Regions from separate parts of the Homo sapiens genome. Here regions 1, 2 and 3 are each linked to region 4. Evidence: promoter capture Hi-C in 16 types of primary human blood cells and fetal thymus (Javierre and others, 2016). All regions are on one chromosome and are shown on one strand. The core of a region is centred on a gene start or on the middle of the fragment in contact, and the rest is flanking DNA. Distances in the headings are between cores, read along the strand shown. Region 1 has its middle 6.0 kb from the start of NPY4R. Region 2 holds the start of LOC124902419 (a long non-coding RNA gene). Region 3 has its middle 4.5 kb from the start of ERCC6. Region 4 holds the start of MAPK8 (mitogen-activated protein kinase 8).

Region 1 (3,861 bases), core at 1,088-3,587, 1.8 Mb before region 4:
AAAACACAGAAAGATGGAAAACTTCAGAGCTAAAATAAGAGACATGGATGATTAACACTAATGACCCATCATCCAATTACTAAAATTTCCAGGAAGGAAAAATCAAGACAATGAAAGGCAGCATATCAGTCATAGTCTGCACAGGACACATAATTCACCCCCAGATTGTCAAACAAAGGGATTTTAATAAAAAGGTAACTTACAGAGGTGTGGGAAGCATTAAAGGAAAGAAACAAGAAATGGTGAGGCACCCAGAGACTGGCAGAAGACAGAAGCAATCACCACCCTACAGTTAAAAGAACAAAAGGAGAAAACCACATTACCACAGCCAGAGGACTGCAGAGGAAGGGCCCCCAGTGGGAGCTTCTGTAGTGTGGAGGCATGCCACCGCCTCCAGACAGCATGGAAGCAAGGGGAAGTAGAAAAGAATTCTACCAACCTCTCTCTCCTTCCACTTCCAGTCTCCTGTCAGTCCCTCCCATTGACCAAACCCAACTGGAGCCCTGCCAGCAAAGGAGCCATCAGCTTCCCCTGGCACAGGGAAGAGCAGAGAACCACAGTAGAGAATGCATCTGGGTGGGGTGTGAGCAAAATAGTCGACACATAGAATCATCAATAGCAAGAGTATTCCAGAGCTACAGATTAAAAGGAAGCCCGAGGAACTGCTCCACACCTAGACAGGTACTGCAAAATTTCAAAACACCAAAAAAAAAAAAAAAAAAAAAAAAAAAAAAAGATTCTAAAATGTTCCATGGGTGGGAGCAGGAAGAGAAAGGTTGCCTACAAAGGAAAGGAGAGACAGAGACCATTCTCAGTCTTGTCAACAACATAGGATGATGGAAGACTCTGAAAAGATGGAGCTATATTTTTAGGACTCCTGGAAATATATTTTGAACCTAAAACGCTCATCTCAGCGATAATATCAAGTGTAAAGGTAGAATAAGGATATTTCTAAACTTGCAAGCTTACATTTCCTGAATCCTTTCTGAGAGAGTTCATTAAGGAAGTGTATTAGTCCATTTTCACACTGCTATAAAGAACTACCTAAGACTGGGTGATTTATAAACAAAACAGCTTTAATTGACTCGCAGTTCCACATGGCTGGGGAGGCCTCAGAAAACTTACAACCATGGCAGAGGGGGAAGCAAGGTACATCTTACATGGCGGCAGGAGAGAGGCTAGGGACTCCCAAACACTTTTAAACCATCAGATCTCGTGGAAACTTACCATCATGAGAACAGCATGAGGTAAACTGCCCCCATAATCCGATTACCTCCCACCAGGTACCTCCCTCGGCATGTGGAGATGACAATTAGAGATGAGATTTGGGTGGGGACACAGAGCCAAACCATATTAGAAGGTACTCCAGCACAACTGGTATAAAATCAAGCAAGGAGAGATGAGGTCAAAGAAATGGTTGAACAGGCCCAGGAGCCTGGGATTTTCTTTCCCTACGCAAATAGTAAACCTGCATTACTGTATTTCTAGGGGAATTACAGGGATCGATGCCATGATTAAAGACATGAAAGATGCAGGGACAGGGAGGCCTGTCACATTTCTGCCCACTTGGCTCACCTCTTTAGCTCTTTAGCCTGTGCAGGAAGTTGCTGAATCTTGGAGAATGACTGTATGTCGTCGTAAATTTAATCAGGCAGTAACTCCAATTTTAGCTGCTTTTCTAAATGCAACATAGAACAACTTAACCACTCTCAGCACTTAGTATGTAGCTATTGACTCAGCTTGTGTTTTCTCCCCATCTGTATCGGTAAGAACCAGCAGAAGTTTGCTTTCACCTGGCAAGGATAGAAGTACAAAGTCAGTGTCTTCTCCCAGATCATGTTCGTTTTCCAGCTTTCTGTTATAGTGTGGTCTACAGAGACCTTGATCTTCTGAACATCCCACAGATCCACAGATGGTATGCTGGTGCACTACACTGGTAGCACATGCTGATTGAACTGATGAGCAGGGAGAATAAACCAGATGCCTTCATAAGATGCATGCAGCACATGGGCATGGGTGGGACAGTAGCCATCATAGCCCGGGTAGTCTAAGCTAAGCACACGGGATATGTACCAGATGGCACCCATCTGGCGTGGGGGAGCCTGGCATGGCATGTCAGAGCCAGAATAGGACAAAGAGTGGCCATGCAGGGAGGCAGGGGCACGGTGGCCTAGCACAGGGTGTTAGAGTCCAAGTACTGTCAAATGAAAGTCCACATGGCAGAAGGGGACAACCAAGTGTGGATGTCAGAGCCACACAGAATGAGTGGAGGGGCAGAGTTCTGCTATGGAAGATTGGGTATATGCAGGGGGACCAACTGAGCAAAGTTGGGAGCCAGTTTTCTCACTCATGGAGAAGGCAGTCATGAATATGGAAGGAGGGAAACCCAGAATAAGCCCTGTGGTTTTGATTAGAATTGAAAGTATTGAAGTGAGCTCATGGTTTTCTATATAGAGAGATAAATATTGATCTAATAGTGTGTGTGCATATATATCCTTGCTCTGTCCACTGAGAGAGTCTAGGAGCAGTGATACCCCAATAGCAATGAACACTCCTAGCACCCATATATTGACTTCTAAATGCCATTCTCCATTAAAAGAATCCAAGTCTCCTTCGGAAAATGGCTGATTCCAGGGCAAGGGCTGGGAAAGCCCAAGATAAACCTGAAAGATCTTGGGAGCTAGAAAGTAATGAAGTACTCTAAGAATGAAGGGTGCAGGCCAGAAAAGCCCAGAACCTGGCTTGAAGGGGCCCTTGATGGCCAAATCTTCGACCATGTGAGCATCAAAGTAAATAATAATGATGATGGATAATAACCTACTGAATAAAATAAAAATCTGAGTCCATTTCAATATAACTAAATGATGGAGTAAAGTGACAGTTTGATGAGGAATGGAATATATTCATGGTTTCAGTGTGCCTCATCACAAAATATTTGTTTATTACAAAGAGAAGAGTCACCTTACAGTGGAGAAGGCTGGCAGTCACCTCTGTAATCAAATGATCATAGCGAACACCATCTCTAATCCTAGAGTGAAATTACTCACCGCATGACAGGATGCAAGGAAAACGCAGCACAGCTTCTGTGATCTTCCTGCTGAAGGTGCATGCAAGTGAATCCAACCCTGAAGAAGCATCAGCCTCAACCCAGGTGAGGGACATACTACAGAATAACTGGCCTGTCATCTGGAAACATAAGGCCATGGAAGTCAAGGAAAGAAGGGAGAACCATTCCAGATTGAAGGAGACCAGAGACAGGAGAATGAAACCTGTGTATCTTGGGACAGCTGATGAAACTTTAGTGGAGCCTGCAGATGAGGCGGTAGCAAGGTGTTCATGCAAATTGCCGGGATCATGCTTTCAAATGGCATAGAAAAATTAATGTTCTTTATCCTCACTTTCAACTTTTCTATAAGTTTAAGATGATTTAAATTATATTTTTAAAGGTGTCAAAAATTTTCTTCATCTTTATAGAATGAAACAGAAATAAAAATTGAAAGTGGTAACCTCTGGAAATAGAACTGGGGGAAAGAAGGAAAGAATATCAACGGGAGTTATCTGACCCATAGGATTTTAGGTCATTTTTTGCTTTGTTTCCTTTTCTAAATTTCTCTCTATTAAAAAAGAATGAATGATTACAACTTTATAAAGGAAAGAATCCATAAAATATATGTAATTAAATCCCATGGTACAAAGGGCAAAGAAGCTTGGCAACAACGCTTCCAGCCTCAGTTTTGTCATATGTAAAATGGAGCAAAGATGGGTTCAGGCTCATTACAAACTGGTGAGGGTTCAAATAATTAAGGGATAGGGATAGAATATCAAAGTATTTTCAAAGCCACATAGAAGGGAGGTGTGAGG
Region 2 (4,045 bases), core at 1,358-3,857, 1.8 Mb before region 4:
TGGGAAGACAGACATGAGAGAGACAGTGCCCCTATCATTGGGAAGCTCACAATGGAGTAAAGGAGAAAAGATGAGTACTAAATAAGTCTTAAGAAAGAACGAAGAAAAGTGCCATAAACATTCTGCACCAAGGACTCAGAAGCTGTGGGAGGTGCTGTGTCCATCCTCCCTGCCTGTGCCTCCTGCTTCACGTCGGCTGCCTACCACTGTCAGTGCTGCATGGGGCCCAGGCCTGCGGATGCAAAGTTTCTTTCTCAATCTCTCTCTCTTTCTCTCTCTTCACTGTCTCTCTGCCTCTCTTTCTTCTGTTCCCCTCTCTCTCTCCTCTGTCTCTTTCTCTCCTCTGTCTCTCTGTTCTCTCTCTCTCTCTCCTCTCTCTCTCCCCTTTGTCTCTCCTTGTCTCTCTCTTTGTGTCTTTCTCTCTCTCTCTCTCCCTGCCCCACATCTCACTCATGCTGAGTCAAATCGCCTCGGCTTTCCCTCCTAGTCCTCCTGTTTCTCCTCTTTCTCCTCCCCATCAAGGGGATATCATGGTCTTTCTATGCACCCTAATTTGATTCAGGTCTCCCCGGGCTAAAACCCATCCAGGAGTGCCTTTAGCAACAGGGCAATGTCTGACTTTTCCCTGATGGTCCATGCTTTCCCCCGGGGCTCTTCCTCACCTCTCCAGCCTTCCTGCTTGGCCCGATGCAACAAAATTGTGCAGGAGCAACTGCTCCCTCTTCCTGAAATGCCTCCCCGCCCCTGCTCAGGTTCCTCCATCAGTCTGGACCTGAGCACCACCCTGACCATAGCACCCTCCACTCTGTAGGTGCTTGCAGGTTTTGATACTGGAGCACAGGCCGGGCGCAGTCACTCAAGCCTGTAATCCCAACACTTTGGGAGGACAAGGTGGGTGGATCACCTGAGGTTAGGAGTTCAAGACCAGCCTGGCCAATGTGGCGAAACTCCGTCTCTAGCAAAAATACAAAAATTAGCCACGCATGGTGGCGGGCACCTGTAATCTCAGCTACTTGGGAGGCTGAGGCAGAATAATCACTTGAACCTGGGAGGCGGAGGTTGCAGTGAGCCAAGGTAGCGCCACTACACTCCAGCCTGGGCAACAGAGTGAGACTCCATCTCAAAAAAAAAAAAGATACTAGGGAGCAAAGGCCACCCTGCCCCTGCCACACAGGAGGTACTCAGCCTCTTGGGACTACTTCCCTGACCCCCAATTCCCCAGGGAAGCTTAGCTGCTCCCACCTCAGGCTCCCATCACAGTTCTCAATCTTCACATTTGTTGGCCGTTGGGGTGTCTGCTCCACCTGAGCTTCAGGAAGACCAGAACAAGGTCTTTTGGCCGGTCTTCGTCAGCACAGGGCACGGCACAGAGTCGGCCTCAGGCATGTTTGCTAGGTGAGTGAATGAATGAATGATACTGGAGTAGTGGGCTTCTGCCTCACCTAGGGGTTCTGTTAAAATGCAGACTCTGATTCGGGGGCTCAGAGTGTGCTGAGATTCTGCCTTTCCATCAACTTGCAGGTGGTGCTGAGTCCCTGGGTACATGGAGGAGCAAAGACATGAACCTTTCCCTGCTCCTGGCAACTGGCTCCATCCTACTCCCTATGGGCTTCATGAACTTGCCTGTGGTTGGGGATACTTCCTGCCCTTATGGGCCCCAGAACCCCTATCTCTTAAAAAGGGAAATTTCCCTGGACATCTCTCAGTTGCTGTCCACCCTGTGAAATGAACCCAGGAAGCTATGGTTAGGTACCCTAGCCCGGTCTGGCCCAAATGCAAGTGTTCTGGCGGTGAACACTTAGCATAGGGTTTGGAGAGTCCCTCTCGGTGATGTGCTAAAGCAACCTATATGGCACCACCTCACCAGGGGGCACCGAGGCAAGCAGGATTCCCAGAAGTCACAGACCCGAAGAGAGAAAAAGAACCAGTCCCTGGGCTTGACATGAGACAAAGGAGACCAGAATGGACACACGGCAGCCACTCTCCTATCAAGTTTTCCACATCACCTTCATCCCCTCATTTCAGCCATACCAACAACCCAGCAAGGCAGAGGCAGCAGGCCTCCCATTTGCCTTACAATGGAGGGACTAAGCCCAGAGAGGTGTGAGCACCTCACTAGCATCATCTAGCAGTGAGTAGGGTAGGCACAATGGTACCTGGCTCTGAATGCCTGGTCTAGGTTCTGTCCCTCACATGGCACTGGGTTAAGAGACATCCTGAGACATGCAGGGATACCCTTGGGAGTTTGGAGGAGCTTCAGGCACCATGCATAGCCAATAAATCAGAATAAACAACTAGTCAGGAAAATCAAATGCTTGGATTTTATTATTAAAATATTTTCAAAGCTGATGAAATTGGAAAATGACGAACCGAGACCTGACTCTATTGCTCATCCCCAAGTTAAGAGAGCCAGCTTTCAGCTCACCTGCTGGGCAACTTGACAGAAAGAATGCACACACACACACACACACACACACACACACTCACACACATACCTCCCCTCCTAGACCTTCCAAGCAGGGAGTCTCGCCCGAGTAACACATACCCTTTACTCGCATTCTTCCCTTGATTTATCAGGAGAGAATGGTCAGAACTTAACAGAAAAAAAAGGACCCAGGCTCTTGGGTTCTGAGAGGGGATGGGGTGAGGCTGTCTGTCATGATGACCTTGACCTTTTCCTTCCTGCACCTCCAGATTCCCTCTCCCCTTCTTTAAGAGTGGAGGAGGTGGTACCTAGGGGCCAGGACCCTCCATTTCAGTCTGTACAAACCACTAATTCCTTCTGTGCCCTTAGGCAAGTCACTCGCCCTGCCTGGTCAATAAAGTCTCCTTCTTTACTGAAAAATACATCAGCTTGCCTCATGTGGATGTCCTGAGACATAAATGACAGATGGGAAATGAGGGGCTTTGTAAGATTTAAAATGCTGTGTCCCTGAGAAGGATGTTGCACTGGTTTGGAGCCAGGATCTGATAAACAGGAGACAAATGAAACACTGGAATAAAAAAATACTTGTAACTTATATGAAAAAAATAAACGTATGTTATTAATATACAAAGAGCTCTAACCAATCAATAAGAAAAAATCCTGGGAAATTGATATGAACATAGGCAGATCAGAAATGAAGAAATTCAAGTGCTTATGAACATATTGGAGAATAATAATAGCTTACATTTACTTGGCCCTTATTTTGAGCCAGGAACTGTGCTGGCACTTTACATGAATGATGCCATTAAATCCTCCAATCCAATTAATAAGGTAAAGACCCATTACCATCCTCATTCTATAGATGAAGAAACTGAGGTCCAGGGAGGTTCAGCAACTTTCCCAGCATCACACAGCTTGAGAGTGCCAGAACAGGAATTCTCACTCACGCAGTCCGGCAGACCACAACCTCACTCACAGGGAACAGATTGCAAATCACAATAACTAGGAAGACATTGTTCCTTCACTTATCAAATTAGCCAAAATATTAAAGTTCGATTAACAATCAAATATTGGCGTGGGTATGAGAAAATATGCGTTTTCATGTATTATTGGTGCAATCTTTCTGGGGAGCAATTTGCCAATACCGGTAGATATTTTACATGTACCACTTGATGAAAAATTTATCCTACAGATATACTCACACCTGAACATAAAACTATACATACAAGGATATTTATTTTTATATGAGAAAAAGGAACTCTCATTCATTGCTAGTAGGAATACGAAATTGTACAGAGATAGTTTGGCAGTTTCTTATGAAGCTAAACATAGTCTTACAGCAATGTTGCCCTGCGTATTTAACCAACTGAAGTAAACATATGTCCACATCAAAACCTGCACATGAATATTTATAGTAGTTTTATTCATAATAGTCAAAACCTGAAAGCAACCAAGATGCCCTTTGGTAGATGAATAAATGGCAGTATGCCCAGACAACAGAACATTTTTCAGCACTAAAAAGAAATGAGTTCTCAAGCTATGAAAATACATGGAGGAAGCTTAAATCCATATTGCTAGGTGAAAGAAGCCTGTCTGAAAAGGCTACATGCTACATGAAGC
Region 3 (3,926 bases), core at 745-3,244, 1.2 Mb after region 4:
GTTATTGATTTGGATTTTAATCCATTTTCCCTACCATTTCCTAGCCCTTACTCTAAGCTGGGCATTATTTTAAACACCCCACCCAAGGGGTTCTTCCTGCCCACTGCATAAAGAAAGACCATAGCATTGTGGTAGAAAAAGAGCTTAATAGACACGAGGCCGACCATGCCAGGTGGGAGATGGAGTGCATGCTCAGGTCATCTGATCCAAAGTCCGAAGCTCATAGGCTGGGGGTTTTTCAAACGCAGTTTGGAGGAAGGGGTGGGAGTGGCCAGGTAACAGGTGCTTGCTGCTGATTGGTTGAGGCTGAGATGAAATCATAGGGGGAGTCAAAGCTGTCCTCCTGCAGTCTGAATCACTTCTGGGTGGGGCTGTGGGAGTGGGGTTGGCGGTCCAGGTGGAGCCATGGGTGTCAGACATGCAAAAAACCTGGAAAGATATCTCAAAAAGCTACAAATAGTGGTTGTATTAGTCTGCTCTCGTGCTGCTAATAAAGACATACCCAAGACTGGGTAATTTATAAAGGAAAGAGGTTTAATTGACTCACAGTTAAGCATGGCTGGGGAGGCCTCTGGAAACTTACAATCATGGTGACAGGGGGAGCAAACATGTCCTACTTCACATGGTGGCAGCAAGGAGAAGTGCAGAGTGAAGGAGGGGGAAAGCCCCTTATAAAACCATCAGATCTCGTGAGAACTCACTATCAGAACAGCATGGAGGTAACCACCCTCACGATTCAGTTATCTCCCACCGGCTTCCTCCCACAACATGTAGGGATTATGGAAACTACAATTCAGGATGAGATTTGGGTGGGGACACAGCCAAACCATATCAGTGGTGTTATTTGCAGGAGTAATTGGGAAAGTTGAGTATCTTATAACCTCCAGAATAATGACTGACAATCGTTCATATCTGCGCCTTAGCAGGACTCAGGCTCCTCTCCTCCCCCACAGCCTGATAGCTTCCCATTAGCTTTACAAAAACAGTTGAGTTTCAGGCAAGGTCTGTTATCATGTAAACTATAGCCTAAATGTCTCTCAAAGTTAGCTGGCCCCAGTAGCTTAGAAATAATTAAGGGAAAGGCAAGATAGGTGTTGGAATGGGGGCGTTAACTCAGACCTCTTTCACTGTCATAATTTTCTAACTGATATAATTTTTGCAAAGGTGGTTTCATTGTCTTGAGTGCTTTACTAATGTTAACTTGTTTAACTATGACGATATTCATCCTTGCGCCTTTATTTCACATTTCGTGTTCAATATAAGGAATTCTCCCAATGACCTACAGAACAGAGGTCTGAGTTGACTCTCACTTTTCAAAACTTCTGGGTAACGGCAGTGCAACAAAACCGGTTTGGTTCTCTGATCCTTATAAATGGGGAAAACTCATGAAAAATAATTAGATGTATTGGAAACACAATAAATACTTTGTAAAAATTATAAATCAAAAAAGAAGCAAAAGCATATTATTTAGAACTGTGTTGGCAACCACTAGAAAAACATGTTAAATGTATGTTGAATAAATGAATCAGCAAGCTTAAAAGCAATGAATGTATAAAACCATCCATTGTGAACTGTTACCAGGAAGGATTCCCGATCCAGATGCCGAGAGAGTTCTTAGACCTTGAGTAAGAAAGAATTCGGGGCAAGTCCATAGAGTAAAGTGAAAGCAAGTTTATTAGGAGAGTAAAGGAATAAAGAATGGCTACTCCATAGGCAGAACAGCAACTTGGGCTGCTTGATGAGAATACTTATAGTTATTTCTTGATTATATGCTAAAGAAGGGGTAGATTATTCCTGAGTTTTCTAGGAAAGGGGTGGGTAATTCCCAGAACTGAGGGTTCTTCCCATTTTTAAACCATATAGGGTAACTTTCTGATATTGCCATGGCATTTGTAAGCTGTCATGTGCTGATAGGAGTGTCTCTTAGCATGCTAATGCATTATAATTAGCATATAAGGAAGAGTGAGGATGACCAGACATCACTTTCATTGCCATCTTGGTTTTCGTGGGTTTTGGCCAGCTTCTTTACCGCAAACTGTTTAATCAGCAAGGTCTTTGTCACCTGTATCTTGTGCCAACCTCCTACCTCATCCTGTGACTTAGAATGCCTGCCCTCTTGGGAATACAGCTCAGTAGGTCTCAGCCTTATTTCACCCAGCCCCAATTCAAGATGGAATCACTCTGGTTCAAATGCCTCTGACATATTTCTCCCTTCCCTTTTACAAGGGAACGCCTAATCCAAAGGGTAGTAGAGGGACAAAGATCCATCTTCTGTAACTTCTTCAAGCTGAATAAGGGCTATGCTACTCCTACCTAACTATTATGGTCTCTTGTATTCAGGGTAGTGAGGAGCTCAGTCAGAAGGCATCACTATGGTGAGGGACATTCATAACTCTTGAGGGCAAAAGGTGATATCTGGAAGATTAAAAAGTATTCAATTTAATTAAACATTGAGTAAGCTTATCCTGCACTCCCACACGGAGTACAACAGCAATATGTTCCACAACGGTAAAGCAAAATAAGTAAAACTATCCCAAGTAAACTAAATTAGAAGGCTTTCCATGAACTCGGCAACAGCTGGAACTGGGCAAGCTGATATGAAGTTGCTGTACATGCTATATGTTCCAATTAGAATTAGAATATTGATCCAGATTTTTACATTACCCATTTCTGTTATTTTTTTTCTGAGCAGCAGCCAGAGATCACTGGTTAGTTGGCAGGAAAAAGTAGGGTTAGTCTAAATTGCAAGGAAGAAAAAACCCTTAAAAATAACTGATGAGACTAGAATCTAATAACAGGTGTACCATAGTTGAAACATAACTTTTTTCTCTCTTCAGGCTCCCACTTTTATTAAAGACAAATCATGGTAAGACTGATTTGCTTCCAACTAAATAAATTTAGTTTTATACTTGGCCTGATTCTTCGTAAAAAGGGCAGCAAGAATAATTATTTTTCACATGGGTTTTTTTTTTGTAATTGGATTTGATGGATCTTTGTTCTATAAGGAATTTTAAATAAGACTTTTTTTAAAACTGAGCCCAGCCATGGGTTGCTGCCATCAAATACCTGTAAGTTGGGTAAATTCCTCTCCTCCTGAGGTCCCAAGATATTGGTGCTCCTGGGCCTCTCAGAAAGTTGCATTCTTTACTTATTACAGACCAAGAACCCTGTACAAGGACTGTGTAGACAAGGTATGAGGCCAGTTTTCCCAAGGGGCTTTTATTGTCTCTATAAGTCAAGTTTGATTCCTTGAAGCAGTTTGTTTATATTTGAAAGCATGCCATTCCAGTCAAAGGCTTGGTAAAATAATCAGTTCCTCCAACTGTGTCCTGTTGTAAAAGAAAACAGATTCTTACTGCACTTATGTAAATAACTATATTGCCATAAGAATACTCACAAATAGTTTCCAAATTCTGGAGAAATCAGGTAGAGAGAAATATGCTTCAAATTTTGTTTATAGGCATACTCAGCTGCTACAAGTTGTAAATAAAAGTTTTCTTGACTGTGAAAAACAAAACAAAGGATCAGCAACACTTTAAGAAAAAAAGTCAAAAAGATTACTTCAGGCTTCTATTAGTTTACTCCATGCAGTTGACTCCTGTTCTGCTTGATAGTCATGAATATTTCAGCTCTCCATGAGAGTCCTAAATGTTTTTTCCTCTATTCTAATGTCACAATCTCCTAAGTTATTCAGAAACCTGCATTTAAGAGCACCTGTCAAAGTCGTATAGTTGATTATAAACCACCTTTTGAAGAGGAACAATACAAGATAACACTTGTCTGTGGATGACAAAAAACCTTAGGACAGTCACTATTAAAGTCACAATTGACTAGGAATTTTGGTTACTTTTGTGCATACAAAGACTTGTCATAATTATAATTATTAACAATATACACTAAGTCATACAAGAATTATAGGAGTTTCT
Region 4 (4,007 bases), core at 1,175-3,674:
CTTTATTTTCTCACCTCCCATTCATTTCCCAGCCCACTCTAATTCACTTCTGGTTCTATTACTCCAGGATTCCAAGCCTCCTCTTATGTTTAATATTATTGATCAGCCCTTTCTTCTTGAACACCTCTCTCCTGGTTATCCTTCTATCTCCCTGGCAGCTCATCACAGACTCATCTTCCCCTTTGTGGCCCTTTAACACTGAAGTTCCCCAAGCCTGGTTGCAGGCCCTCTCCTCAGGCCTAGGCTGACCCATCTATCCCAAGGCTTCAAGGAATCACTCACTGTCAATGATTCGTCTCTTAACTAGCTGAACCTCAGCTCTGTATATCCAACCACCAACTTAACATCAGTTTTGGGCATCTCAAAAGCCTTCAAACAGCCAAACAGCCTGCTCTCATGATATTTTAATGCCAGTCTGGTCCTTTTCCAAGATTCCCATCTTGGTAAACCAGCACTAACATCCATCCTTGGCCACAAGCCAGAAACCTTTGAGTTTTCCTTGATGACTCCCTCTCCTTCATTGCCCCACATAACCCATCACTTGGAGAATGTGCAAGTTCTGCCCGTTGGACCTCCTAAATAATTCACAGATCTTTCCATGTCCATCAACTATTTCCATGACCATCACCCTAGATCAAGCTTCCACCTCTTACCGTCTAGGCTACTCCTACATCCACCTGGGCTCTTTCCAATAAGGAATCTTTTCAAGAAGCTATTCTGACCATGCCACACCCTTTGCTGAATATGTCAGGGGCTTCCCATTGCACTTAGGATAAAAAGATTTTCAACATGGCCAATATGGATGTCCTACGTTTGGTCCCTTTACCAATCTTCCTGACTTCATCTCATAGCTCCTTCTTCCTTGCTCCTCCAGCAGAGCTGGCCTTTCCTGAATTTCTCCATCTTATCCTGCTTAATCTCATCAGAGGACCTTTGCGTGCAAAGCTACCTCTAAAATATTCTCTGTCTAGTCAAACCTATTCCCAGCTCAAGTGACAGTTCCTCAGGGAAATCTTTTCTGGCCTTATTAACTAGTGTATTAATTGGTTTCATAGTATTATGTATCCTTAACAATTTGTATTATAAAACAGTGATAATTTTGCGTTTACTATTATTACTTTCATAGTACAGTGATTAAATCTGTAAACTCTACTGTATTGCCTGGCACTGAATGGGCATGCAATAAATAATTATTGCAGGAACAAAGGATGGCAGGAAGGAAATTAAGAAGGTTGAGAGGGAGGGAGAGAGGAAATGGGAAGAGAATGAATGAATAATCATCTGTATGTTCCCTTTCAGAATCACCAGAAACAGGCCAGCCCCACATGTAATAGGAAAGTAGTTTACCTGAAATCATTCATTTATTCAACAAATATTTATATATTCATTATTAAAGTAACTTACTTGTTTCTGATTGTGAACATAACTATTCCTCTCGGAAAACATGAGAAAATACCCAAAGTATAAACGAGAACCAAGTCACCCTTTATTCCATAGTCCAATGATGAACCATTGTTAACATAATTTGGTGTATTTCTTTCCAGGTTTTTTCTATGTGTATATATAGTATCTAAGTGGGACCATTCTATATATGACTTGTTTCTTGCTTCTTTCTCTTAATGATACATTGTGAACATGTTCCTATGTTGTTAAGAATTCCTTGAACACATGGCATTTAAATTGCTAAAATGTATTCTACCGAATGGTGTAGGTAGTTCAAACGCCTTTCCACCCGTTGTTGGATATTTAAAGGACTTGTCAATTTATCGCTTCTGTAACATTTACACGCTTTGTGGGGCCTCAGAAGTAAACCAGGTAATGCAAGGAATCTGGGAAGAGGTGGATTTGCAAGGAATCTCGGAGGAGGTGGATTTTGGAAAAACTGGAGGCAGCTTTTCCCGGGCAGCTGAAGAGAACACTTATCTCTCTGTAGGTTTCTGGGACCCGGACAGGTGTCCTCAGAATGGAACATATTGTCGGTCAAGGTAACCAGCTCTTCATCACTCAGGTGTGTGTACCGGAAGGGGGTGCCTGTTCGCTGCGCAGGTTAGGCCTAAGCGCACCTGCCCTTCAACCCTGTGCCGACGAGGCCCGAAGGCTTAAGCTCTGACCTGGCTACCGCCGCCAACCAGATGCGGTCCCCTGGGGCCACGCGCCGCCACGTGCCGCCACAGGGCCCGCCCCTCCCGCTCCAGGCCACGCCCCTCACCCACAGCCCTCGGAGGCTCTCTCCGCGGCTCCGCCTCCAAGCGACCTCCGCAAGTCCTCTCGTAACCCCTGGAGTAGCGCCGTCCCCGGGCGGCGGCCCCGCCCCCGCAATCCGGGCCCCGGGGCTGCCCCGCCCCGCCGGCCGCTCGGGAGGCGCGGGGGCGGGGCCCTGCGCGATGACGTGCGCGGGCGTGCGCGGTGACGGCCCGCGTCTCTGTTACTCAGCCGAGCGGCCGAGGCCGGACGACGCGGCTTGGATTGCGGAGCCGCGAGCAGCGCTGGGTAACGGCCGCGGCGACCACCCCGGACGGCCCCTGTCCCCGCTGGCGGGCTTCCCTGTCGCCGTTCGCTGCGCTGCCGGGTGAGTGCGGCGGACGCCGCAGGGCCGGGACGGCAGGCGGCCCCGTCGTGTTTATGTTATTGTGCCGCTGCCGCCGCCGCCGCCTTCTCCTCAGCCGTAACCCCCTCCTGGGAGTGGGGGCGGGAGCGCGCGGTGGGCGGGGGCGGCGCGGGAACAATAGCGGCGCGGAGGCGGGGGCCAGCCGAGGGGGCGTGGGGCTGCGGGACCTGGGTGCGCTCCGCTGCCCGCCAGCCCGCCTGCCGCCGCGAGCCCCGCCCGCCTGTCCTCTCGCGTCCTCTTCGCGTGGGTCCTGCCTCCGCGGCGGGAGAAGAAAATGGAGCGGGGGGGTGGGTGGCAAGTTCTGAAACACTTCGGCAAGGGTCGGACGGAGGTGTCTTTGCGGCCCGCCGCGCCCTGGCTGCCTCCGGGGCGGCGGGGAGCCGGGGAGAGCGCTTCTGCCGGCAGGTCCCCAAGCCTGCCCCGCGCCCATAGGGACCGTATTTTGCTTCTCGATGCTTTCTTTGTGCTAACGTTCTGGGCGAACGCAGGCAGCAGCGCTGAAAAGGGCCAGAGTGGCCTGCAGCTCTGGGCTGCAGGGCAGAGAGCCCAGGCCCGTGGCTCGGGTGGGAGGTGTCCATCCAGCTTGGCCCGAGCTTCGGTGGTCAGCGCGCATTTCTCTTGAGGGTCATCGGTGGTGACCTTTTGACTTTTTCACCCCACCCTCCCATCTCTTTGTCTCGCATTTGTGTTCCCGATTCAGAGATGGTAGAACCAAGTCCATTTTAAAGTACCCTGATGAACACTTTCCGTTTTTATTTCTGAAAGTTCCCTGCTTGGTCTTTACTGCGAATTTAATAACATGTTGACTACATGGCATTGTCCAGTGATTACTATTTTTACCTCTGAAATCCAGCGATCTTTCCAGTAGAATTCTGGTCCGTCAGTCCATTGTGTTTTGAGATAAGCATCCAGCAAGTACCTCCTTGGCAATTAGAACATCTGTTTTTTCATTCATTCATTCATTCAGCAGCTGTTTAGTACCGTACTCAGATGAAGAGGTTTGGTGTGAAGGTAAAGTATCCTTTCATGGAAGAGGATGCTTTGACTGAAGTATAATAGATGGACCTTTAAATGAGACAGTTACATAAGTGATGTCTGTTAAGGAAGGTATGGTTATATTCTGGGTCATTTTTTAAGCAGTATATCTGGAAGTTCAAGTGTAATAGGAAGTAGAATTAGATTTGGTCTAAATATACAACAGCTTTTATTTATTTCTAAATTTTATTTTTTCCAGTCTTGCAGCCTTACAGTCATTTGTAATGGTTACCTCAGATTCCCCTGCTGTGGTTAACGTTAAACCTAGGAGGTCAGATGCTCTAAGTGAACATGTTTAGTGCTGTGCCTGACAAAAGCAAGCAATCAAAATGGGACTTCCTTGAGGGCAGGCCTGTCTTGCATC

What was found. The method cuts DNA at HindIII sites, captures the fragments that hold promoters and counts their contacts. A CHiCAGO score of 5 or more calls a contact.
Region 1: a fragment that was not itself captured here is called in contact with the fragment with the promoter of MAPK8 in region 4 in 5 of 17 cell types (erythroblasts, M1 macrophages, M2 macrophages and 2 more); the score reaches 11.2 in erythroblasts.
Region 2: a contact is called between a fragment that was not itself captured here and the fragment with the promoter of MAPK8 in region 4, in 2 of 17 cell types (M0 macrophages and M1 macrophages). The highest score is 7.3, in M0 macrophages.
Region 3: a fragment that was not itself captured here is called in contact with the fragment with the promoter of MAPK8 in region 4 in 8 of 17 cell types (total CD4 T cells, naive CD4 T cells, total CD8 T cells and 5 more); the score reaches 11.5 in total CD4 T cells.

Annotation. Positions count from the first base shown.
Region 1 is chr10:46,469,995-46,473,855 of GRCh38, forward strand. It overlaps a transcript of NPY4R not described here. Among named protein-coding and RNA genes, the nearest start is that of NPY4R, 6.0 kb to the left of the region's middle. The HindIII fragment of the contact is 2,742 bases long and covers 967-3,708 here.
Region 2 is chr10:46,535,020-46,539,064 of GRCh38, forward strand. It overlaps LOC124902419 (a long non-coding RNA gene), which reads left to right and starts at 2,250. Exons shown (of 2, transcript XR_007062138.1): 1 at 2,250-4,045. RefSeq lists an enhancer at 802-1,303. The HindIII fragment of the contact is 2,757 bases long and covers 1,230-3,986 here.
Region 3 is chr10:49,541,655-49,545,580 of GRCh38, forward strand. No RefSeq gene overlaps it. Among named protein-coding and RNA genes, the nearest start is that of ERCC6, 4.5 kb to the left of the region's middle. The HindIII fragment of the contact is 926 bases long and covers 1,532-2,457 here.
Region 4 is chr10:48,304,253-48,308,259 of GRCh38, forward strand. It overlaps MAPK8 (mitogen-activated protein kinase 8), which reads left to right and starts at 2,425. Exons shown (of 12, transcript NM_001323329.2): 1 at 2,425-2,569. RefSeq lists a silencer at 2,056-3,005. The HindIII fragment of the contact is 3,503 bases long and covers 638-4,007 here.